Linked DNA regions of Homo sapiens: regions 1 and 2 are each linked to region 3. Evidence: promoter capture Hi-C in 16 types of primary human blood cells and fetal thymus (Javierre and others, 2016). All regions are on one chromosome and are shown on one strand. Each heading gives the region's core, a stretch centred on a gene start or on the middle of the fragment in contact. The rest is flanking DNA. Distances are from core to core; before and after follow the strand shown.

Region 1 (3,074 bases), core at 561-3,060, 1.2 Mb after region 3:
CTACTAAAAATAAAAAAAATTAGCCAGGTGTGGTAGCAGGCACCTGTAATCCCAGCTACTAGGGAGGTTGAGGCAGGAGAATCACCTGAGCCCAGGAGGCGGAGGTTGCAGTGAGCCGTGATCACACCACTGCACTCCAGCCTGGGTGACAGGGGTCTCAAAAAAATAAATGAAATAAAACAAAATAAAATCAGGGGATTTCAGAGAACTTATGTTCCCCCACAATACACATCAAAATAAATACAGAAGTCTAGATGGTAATTTAAAATATACTCTCTCAAATGACCTAGTGTACCACCAGTGGTGTGCACACCCCACTTTGAGAAATACAGTAACGAGGATTAAATGAATGAACACTCATAAAGCACCAAGACTGAGAAACAGTAGCAGGTTGTCTTCCTCCCTTCAAGAGCAGTGTTACCAATCCAGCTGGCTTTTCCTTTCCAGTGGGTTTTTCCTTTTGTTGTGGGAGTAACTGGCCTGGCCAGATGATAAGAGTAATAACCAAGAGTAATTAGGCACTTACCAACTAATGTGCAGATACTAATGTGCTGAACTTTCATTCTTACAATGAGTTTATGAAGCAGGGGTATTATTATCCCCATTTTACAGAAGAGGAAATGGAAGCTTAGAGAGGCGCACCACCTGTCCAAAGTTCTACACCCAGGATGCTATTCTACACCAGCCACACATTACTCCTCCATGCAAACCCTCTCTCTAATCCACGTGGCGGAATCTACCCAAAGAGAATGATCTGAGATACGTACAAAGGCTGATGTACAAGGCCAATAACTGATGAAATTAATAACTTTTGAAGCTATTATGAATAACATAGGCCAATGTTATTTGTAATACCAAAAACCTGGAAAGAGCATTAGTCTAACAATGATAAATGATTCAACAAATTAAGATATAGTCCAATGACAGAATATTAAACAACCATGACAGGTGATACTTCTAAACATTTCATGACATCAGAAAATGTCTGTAATTTTTAAAGCAGAATACAACAAGCATATTCAACATAATGCCAGTTAAATTAAAATTCATACTGACATTGACAAAATACATACAAGACATCATTTAAAAAAGGCAAGAAGGAAGTATCTCTGGGAATAATATTACCAATGATTTTTGACTGAATGTTTCAAAATCATTTTGCTGTATTTCTGTAATATTCTACAATGAGTTCATATTTCCTTCTTCAATCACTGCTCTTCTCCCCACCTCCCAGTGTGAATGACAAATTGGCAAACTGCAGTGGGTTCTTCAGCATTTTTATTCAAATATAAAGGATTCTTATAAAAGCACTAGATTAGGCCAGGTGCAGTGGCTCACGCCTGTAATCCCAGCACTTTGGGAGGCCGAGATGGGCGGATCATGAGGTCAGCAGATCGAGACCATCCTGGCTAACACGGTGAAACCCTGTCTCTACTAAAAACTACAAAAAAATTAGCCGGGCGTGAGGGCGGGTGCCTGTAGTCCCAGCTACTTGGGAGGCTGAGGCAGGAGAATGGCGTGAACCCGGGAGGGGGAGCTTGCAGTGAGCGGAGATCATGCCACTGCACTCCAGCCTGGGCAACAGAGCAAGACTCCATCTCAAAAAAAAAAAAAAAAAAAAAAAAGCACTAGAGCACTAGATTAAAAACAAACCACAAGGAAAGAAAGGACTAGGACTTGGATGCAAAGAGGAGGAAGTGTTATATTTTTTCTTCTTCTGGGGAGGAGAGAAGGGAGGAAATTTCCATTTTTCAAGTGTAGCTCACTCTCAAATCCATGAGCTCTGGGCATGTAGTCTGCACCCTGGGTACTTCTGTAGATGGTTTGAATATGACATACACCCACACGATGTAATTGGGCCATCTGTCTATTGTTCCCCTGTGGTCTGAACCTCCACAGCAGATCACATGAGCTTTAAAGGTAGAGACAGATGTGTGTTCTAGTTATGAGTGTCCTTACCTCTCGGTACTCATATATCTCAGTGCCACCTGCCCTTAAGAACTCCCAGAAGGCTGGGCGTGGTGGCTCATGCCTATAATCCCAGCACTTTGGGAGGCCAAGATGGAAGGATCACGTGAGGCCAGGAGTCCAAGAACTTCTAGAGGCATTCACTGAAGGAAGAGCTACAGGAAGCCTGGACTCCTGCAGTTTCATCCGGCACAAGATCCAGGTGGGAGTAACAGGAAAATGTTGAACAAGAGTGAGAAGTGGAGTGAACTACAAAATGGCATTCTGAAAAGCCAGATGGCCAGTGTTAAGCCAGGTCCTGACATGCATGAGAAGGCATGCCTGCAGCAACTTCAGCATATTCCTTTCAACATAACCCGATTAACCTATGGAATCTGAGTTAATACCCACATTGAGGAAAGTGGCACTATAAAGTCAAGATTAGGAGACTGAGCCCTCTCTGCCTCAATCTGTCAGACTTCAGCCTTCAAGCAGCTGGAGAAACAGTGGGAGGGCAGCATTCTTGTAAACAAGCTAATCTTTTTAGAGTTAAGTAGGCAGTGACATTTGTTATTTAAAACATCAAACTTGGAAAAGACCAACTCACACTGTAAGAGCCTGCCCTTCTCTTACTCCCTTGCACTGGACTGGTGTGTTCTCTCTGACAAGTTCTCGGCTTTCTAACCTTCCCTCAGGTGGGACGGCAGGACAATAGCAGCCTGAGCTGAGAACAGGCCTCTCATCCTGCTTCCAACCTGGACTCATTACAAAGAAAAATGAACCAATTCTCATAGTCTTTGGGGAGTAAATTTTATAACTCCCTAAAGATATTCCCTACCTTGTACCCAAAGGTAGGGAACAGCAAAAAGACAAAAAGACATCGAGAGATACAGCAAACGGGGCTGCAGCGGGTGAGATGGGAGAAATGGTTCTTGCCCAGGGAAGTCTTGTTCTTTGTAATAATGAAAGGGACGAATCAATGACAAGTATCAGATAACTAGGTGACTGACACTGGCAGTGACCACTTCCTCAAAAAAAAAAGCTTAAGAAGAAACAATATCATACTTTCTTCTTCTTTATTACCAATACTCCCTTTTTCCCCTTCCCTTCTCTACTAGGTAAGAGTT
Region 2 (3,244 bases), core at 42-2,541, 1.2 Mb after region 3:
ATCTCAGTATTCTCCCACAACTCCCAAGGAGCAGAATGAGGTTTCTAAAATGGAACTGTAGATTCTAGAATTCTGCACTCTGTGTGGGTCCCCCACCTCCATCACAGGCAGAATCCACTCCACTTCCGACTCCAGGAATAGTGTGACTTAGGCCAGCCAGAACAGCACATTTACTCCCAATCCACATACCCTTATAAAAATTCTCAAACATACAGAAAAGATGAAAGAAGAGACAGTAAACATGCATATACCCATCACCTCCATTCTACAGTTGTTCATATTTTGCTATATTTGCCTTATCACATATCTAGCCATCTTTCTATCATCCATCAGTCCATCTTGCTTTTTAATAAATTTTAAGAGGAGTTGCAGATATCAGCACTTTTAAACATTTCAGAACACATATCATCTAAAGTTCAATATTTGTCCATTTTTAAATGTAAAATGTACATACAATAAAATACATAATTCTTAAGCATGCCAATCATGAATTGTGACAATTTCATATACCCATGTAAGCTAAACCTCTATCAAGATAGAAACATCAGCTCAGATAGTTCCCTCAGACCTCCTTCCATCTTACTCCCACCCCTCACACACCCCATGCACTGGCAACCACTGTTCTGTTTTGCACCCCCAATTAGTTTTGCTTATTCTAGATCACTATACAAACAGACTTACATCATATATATTCTTTTATAGCTACTCTGTTTCACTCAGCATAAATTTTTTTTTTTAAGTTCTGGGATACATGTGCAGAACATGCAGGTTTGTTACATAGGTATACATGTGCCATGTTAGTTTGCTGCACCTATCCACCCATCATCTAGATTTTAAGCCCTGCATGCATTAGGTATTTGTCCTAATGCTCTCCCTCCCCTTGCCTCCCATCCCCCAACAGGCCCTGGTGTGTGATGTTCCCCTCCCTGTGTCCATGTGTTCTCACTGTTCAACTCCCACTTATGAGTGAGAACATGTAGTATTTGGTTTTTTGTTCCTATGTTAGTCTGCTGAGAATGATGGCTTCCAGCTTTATCCATGTCCCTGCAAAGGACATGACCTCATTCTTTTTTATGGCTGCATAGTATTCCATGGTGTATATGTGCCCCATTTTCTTTATCCAGCCTATCATTGATGAGCATTTGAATTGGTTCCAAGTCTTTGCTATTGTAAATAGTGCTGCAATAAACATACGTGTACATGTGTCTTTATAGAATGATTTATATGATTTATAATCCTTTTGGTATATACCCAGTAATGGGATTGCACTCAGCATAAAATTTTTAATATTCATCCATGTTGTGGTGTGAACCAATACCTTTAGTCCTTTTTACTTCTGAGTTGAAATTTAATGTTTGAATATACCATAGTTTTATCAATTCCTCTGTTGATGGACACCTAGGTGGTTCCCTGTCTGTAGCTATCATAAAGCTGGTCCAAAGGTTTTTGTACAAATCTTTTTGAAGACATGTGTTTTCACTTCTCTTAGGTAAATACCTAGGAGTGGAACTGCTGGATTCTACAGTAGAGTTTTTTGTTATTAAACAGAAAACTTCCAAGCCTTTGTCGACAGTAGTTGTGCCATTTTACTTACACCCCCACCAATAATGTATGAGAGTTTGGGTTGCTTCACATCCTCACCAGCACTTGCCAATCTTTTCATTGTGTTGTCAATCTTCTACTTTTAGCTGTTCTAATGGGTATGCGTAGCAGTATCTTATTATAGTCTCAAACTGCATTTTTCTGATGATCCATGATGTATACTTTTTCATGTATGTATTGGGCCATCTTTTGTCCGGCGTTTCTTCAAGTCTTTTTTCTGTCTTTTAGTTAGGTTCTTCTTTTTATTACTGAGTTTTATGGGTTCTCTATACATTCTGGATATGTCCTTTGTCAGATATATGGTTTGCGAATATGTCCTCTTATTCTACAGCTTGCCAGTTGATTTCTTAATGGTGTCTTTTGATAAGCACTAGCTTTTAATTTAAATCAAGTCAATTTTTTTTCATGTTTTTGTAGGGCTATCACTTTCTATGTCCTATTACATAACTTTTGCCAATCCCAGATCGCATAGATTTTGTCCTATGTTTTCTTCTGAAGGCTTTATAGTTTTAGATTTTATGTTTATAACCTACCTTGATATTTTTTTAACCCCCACAGCAGCCAGAAAGAAAAATTCACCTTGAATTAATCCCCCTAGTTAGCCTAGTTTATAAACATTATTTAGAGGTGCTTCTGAGTCATAACCTAGATTTGAAACTCACTGGTTTTAAATACAAATTTAGGAAAAAGTAGCCTTAACCCGCCTCACTCTCCTCTTTCTCCTTCCCCCAAAACAGTTCTCATATTATAAAATTGATTCATATATCCTTTGGGAACCCTCACTATATTAATAAAACTGAGATCTGCCTCCTACCCCCTCAGCTAAAAGGACAAGCAGGTAAGTGTGCTGAGCATTGTAAAGATCTATATGCTCGAGGCTAATTTTCAGGGGACTCACCTAACTACATGGCCATCTATAAGCTATGATTTGAATGGGCAGGGAGCCCTGGGAGCTAACAAGTATAGTGGCCCTAATCAGTCACTGCCTTACTGTGGGACCCGGATCAAACCTCTTCGTCTCTCTGTATCTTAATTTCCTAAGGCATCAAAAGGGGGGCCTGAAACAAACCAGCTTTGAAATGCCATACTCTTAGTCCCTATAATTTTTAATATTTCACCATCATGAATGAACCCCTTTAGGTCCTGAAGGGCTCTCTATGCACTTTAATAATTTCATATATACATTAGGATGGTAACATCTCAAATCTTACCAGCAAACAGCAAAATTGGGATCTGCTGACAGTTGACTAGGAATAAGGTCCTGCAAATGTTGGAGGGAGTAGGAACTGGAAAGGAAAGGGACAGCAGGTTGGAAAGCTGCTGATCAGACTAGCTCACCGTCTCGTGTTGCACAGGCCATATTCTGCCTTCTTGTTTCAGTTCTCATACTGTAAACAAATGTTCTTTTCCTTTTTCTTTTTTTTTGTTCTTTTTTTAGGGGGTGGGGAAACAGGGTCTTGCTCTGTCACCCAGGCTGTAGGGCAGTGGCTCGATCACAGCTCACTGAACAATGCTCACTGAACAATGTGGTTTAAAGTTGACCTGGATGAAACAGGTTGTTAGTATGTTCACATCAAAAGCTCACAGTGCCTAGCCAAGCCTCTCTTGCTTCTTCTTTAGAGAGAACAAAAGCACACCGGAC
Region 3 (3,506 bases), core at 3-2,502:
GGATTCCACCATCTTGGGAAAGTGATTTAACACAGGAGCCAAAGCAATCATTTTCAAAAGAAAACAATTTAAACATCACTCATCAGTTCACAATCTTCACTTCTTTTAGAACCAACACACAAATCCCACAGGATATTTCCTGGCCCCTTCCTGTTATTCCAGCCTCAACTCCTATGTGGCTCCCCTCACTTGCTGTTCCAGTCACTCAGGTTCCACTTAGAAGAGTGGTTGACAAATTCAGCTAATGTTGCCCCCACCGCCCCCAAGGACATTTGGATTTGGCAATGTCTGGAGAGATTTTTAGCTGTCACAACTTGGTGGTGATGGTGGTGGTGGTTGGTTGGGGGGAGTACTGGCATCTAATGGCTAGAGATTAGGGATGCTACTGCTAAGCATCATGCACAGGGCAGCCCCCAATAAAGAAACATCCTGACTCAAAATGTTAATAATGCTGAAGTTCAGAGCTCGATTTTCATCTTTCCTCAGACCATGCTTCCCAGATCTTGCACACATTGTTCTCTTTGCCTAAAATATTCAGGCTATTTTCCCTTATCCTCCTTTCCCGTTGCCCTTTCTTCTCTTTTCTGGTCTTCTCTAACTCCCACTCACCCTTTGATAACCCTCTTATAGTGGCTTTACAGACTCTTCTTCCCAGATGAATGTTACTCTTTCAAAGAATTATGGAACACTAAAGAATATTAGTAGCAATTTCACATGCATTTGTATGTGTTCGATTACCCCTCTCCACCACCAACTCCAGGTGGGTAGATGTCACCTAGCTTATATTTACCACAGTATCCCCAGCAGCTAGCACAGAATGAATGAATACTTAATAGCTTCACTTACAAAAGGGAAATAGGGTAACCATCTCATTAGGTTGTAAAGATTAAATAATACATACAAACACTTTAGCACAGTGCTTGAATCACAGTAAATGCTGACACCGAGGCATTGTAGGCATTGTAGTTTGTGGACAGGAGAGGGGACTCCGTCTGTCTCATTTTAGCGCCTCCCAGTCTTCCTCCATCACCTAGGTCTGAGAAACTCCTCCTCCTACCTACGAGTAAGCAGCAATTGCTACGCCTGCGCTTTCCTGGTTCCACCCCTAACCAGGCTGCCGGAAGCACTTTCCTCTTTGGCACGGGCCAGCCGCAGGTTGGGTAGATACTGCGCAAGCTCCATACTCGTGTCTCCTCCTCCCGCCCACCGGTGCCCAACCTGCTAACACGCCTGCGCGAGCGGGCGTGCCCCGGAAGCCGTTCTTTGGCCCTGTGACACGTAGCAACGGGGCTGGTTCAGGGTCTGAAACAGAGTTTGGGGGTTGTTTGGGATTAGTGAAGCTACTGCCTTTGCCGCCAGCGCAGCCTCAGAGTTTGGTGAGTGACCCAGGCCCGTGGCACAGTGTTCAGCTTCTCTCCACACCCGTGCAAATGGGCTTGTTGCCGTCTTTCGGCGCCGCGCCCTGGTCCTTTCGCTCAGACCCTCGCTCTCATTCAAGCCCTTGCCCTGACGCGGTCCCCTGCACCTCAGGCGCGACCTTCCAGATTCTGCACTTTTTCCTGGCAGGCCGCAGGCCTTATTTTGCAAGGAAGCAGTCGCCTTGTCAGCTGTAAAGCCCAGTCCTAAGGTGAAAAATCATCTTTGTTGTTATTGATATTTTAGACCGCTTATGGAACCACAACTCCCACGACCTCGCCCCTAATGGAAGGCATATCAGCTCTTTAAGGTGGAGTTGTCTTACTGGGCCGCAACTTAAAAGAATATACATTTTCTTACTCTCTCTCCGCTACCGTCGTTCAAATGCTGCGTACTTTCCGCCCCCATCCCCTCTCCGAATTACTGAAAAAATATTTGTTGTGTTTCTATTTGCTTAAGCAGACTGCCAGGAACGAATTCAGTAGAACCTTGGGCATAAGGAATATTTGCCATTTCTCTTTTATTACAGATTATTTGCAATGTCAGGCTTTGAAAACTTAAACACGGATTTCTACCAGACAAGTTACAGCATCGATGATCAGTCACAGCAGTCCTATGATTATGGAGGAAGTGGAGGACCCTATAGCAAGTAACTTTTCATCTTTGGCAATTAATTTAGTCTACATTGCAGTGAAAACACATATTTAGAATATTTGGTTCTGCCTAAAACAATATGTGAACATGTCCTTTATCAGGAGTATGATCTTTCATGCATAATCTTCTTCCTCTAGAGAGATATGTGACACTGGCTTGGCTTCGAAGGTATTGTTCTATTTAAGAGTTGAGTGTCTTCTGCAAACTCTTCAGGTGTACCATGAATGGAAAAGTAGCTTGTTTGAAGAACTGTTTTCTAGTAACAGTATTTCTGTATTTAGAAGATGATGGGAGCTTCAGGTACCTAGGAGATAGGCTGTTAGTTCATAGGACCAGTGAAAAATTAAAGTATTTTGTTAGTAGTTAAATCAGTCCAACTCTGAGACTTTTATCAGTGCTAATTGAAAGTGCTTAGTGACATTATTTAATGATGTAAGCTCCTTATTACGAATCATCAGGCGATTTTCATACAGCAGTTGATAATCATTTTTATTACTCCTCCTTCTCAAACCCTTATGGTCAGTGCCACACGTGTTATAAGTTGCATACTGAGGAGGTTGACTCAAAGCCGTTAGCCTCTGAACATTTTTTTTTAAATGATCTTTTTATAGTACCTGGTGTTTGTGACAAAAATACATGAACTGAAGGCTTTCTAGCAATCTCACCTAAAACATCATCTCCTTAGTTTCTTAGGACCCTAGAGATAATCTTATCAGCTTCCTGTCAAATAAAGGAGCTTCCTATACTAGGATTGCTTAAACTTTTTTAGATGGTTCTGGATCTCTTTGAGAATCCTATTACAACTGGGCCTCTTTCCCATAAATACATGCATTCACTCAAACACCCAAATAAATGTGCATATATAACTTCAGACAATTCATGTGTTAAATGATGTTCATCATGGATCCCGAATTTGAAACCTCATAAAGACTGTTCCACGATGAGGGCAGGGGAAGGTTATGTATCTGTCAGTTTGTGAGAAACATGCAATACAGGAATGTGTTTGGATTAGAGTGCCCAAGAATTTAAAAAACAAAACAAAATTCAAATTCACTGTGGCTCTGTAATAGTGTCTGTCTTGGTTAGGCTATCCTTTCTAAAACATATAGTCTCTTTGAGTCTGCTTAATTTGGTATATTTTAAGGCTTTGTTTTCCCCTCTAAAACTTAACACATTTGAACAATGGGAGTGAGCATGTCAAAATACCCCGTGATTCATTTCTCTTTTCTGTTACTTAATTACATACCAATGAGGATTTATCTCTTTTGATAAATTAATGGGCAGAGTTGGAAAATTTGTATTGAGGTATTTCCATTCATTTATTTACCTAAATATGTATTTTTGGTGATTGCTCTGTGTATAGGAGAGCCAGAGTCCATCTAATAAATCCTTGCCTAAAGCAGCAACACAGCTTCGGAGAACCTGTCTCTCTATGC

Evidence for each region. The method cuts DNA at HindIII sites, captures the fragments that hold promoters and counts their contacts. A CHiCAGO score of 5 or more calls a contact.
Region 1: a contact is called between a fragment that was not itself captured here and the fragment with the promoter of YIPF5 in region 3, in 2 of 17 cell types (naive CD4 T cells and fetal thymus). The highest score is 7.0, in naive CD4 T cells.
Region 2: a contact is called between a fragment that was not itself captured here and the fragment with the promoter of YIPF5 in region 3, in 6 of 17 cell types (naive CD8 T cells, naive CD4 T cells, total CD4 T cells and 3 more). The highest score is 9.2, in naive CD8 T cells.

The regions. Positions count from the first base shown.
Region 1 is chr5:143,019,184-143,022,257 of GRCh38, reverse strand. The region is part of intron 12 of ARHGAP26 (Rho GTPase activating protein 26); the gene reads right to left. Among named protein-coding and RNA genes, the nearest start is that of ARHGAP26-AS1, 150 kb to the right of the region's middle. RefSeq lists enhancers at 263-352, 2,033-2,242, 2,663-2,712. The HindIII fragment of the contact is 2,362 bases long and covers 630-2,991 here.
Region 2 is chr5:142,998,528-143,001,771 of GRCh38, reverse strand. All of the region lies in intron 11 of ARHGAP26 (Rho GTPase activating protein 26), which reads right to left. Among named protein-coding and RNA genes, the nearest start is that of ARHGAP26-AS1, 130 kb to the right of the region's middle. The HindIII fragment of the contact is 4,886 bases long and covers 1-3,244 here.
Region 3 is chr5:144,168,405-144,171,910 of GRCh38, reverse strand. It overlaps YIPF5 (Yip1 domain family member 5), which reads left to right and starts at 1,252. Exons shown (of 6, transcript NM_030799.9): 1 at 1,252-1,376; 2 at 1,946-2,065. The coding sequence starts at 1,956. It overlaps KCTD16 (potassium channel tetramerization domain containing 16), which reads right to left and starts at 1,038. Exons shown (of 4, transcript NM_020768.4): 1 at 902-1,038. RefSeq lists an enhancer at 1,111-1,390. The HindIII fragment of the contact is 8,610 bases long and covers 1-3,506 here.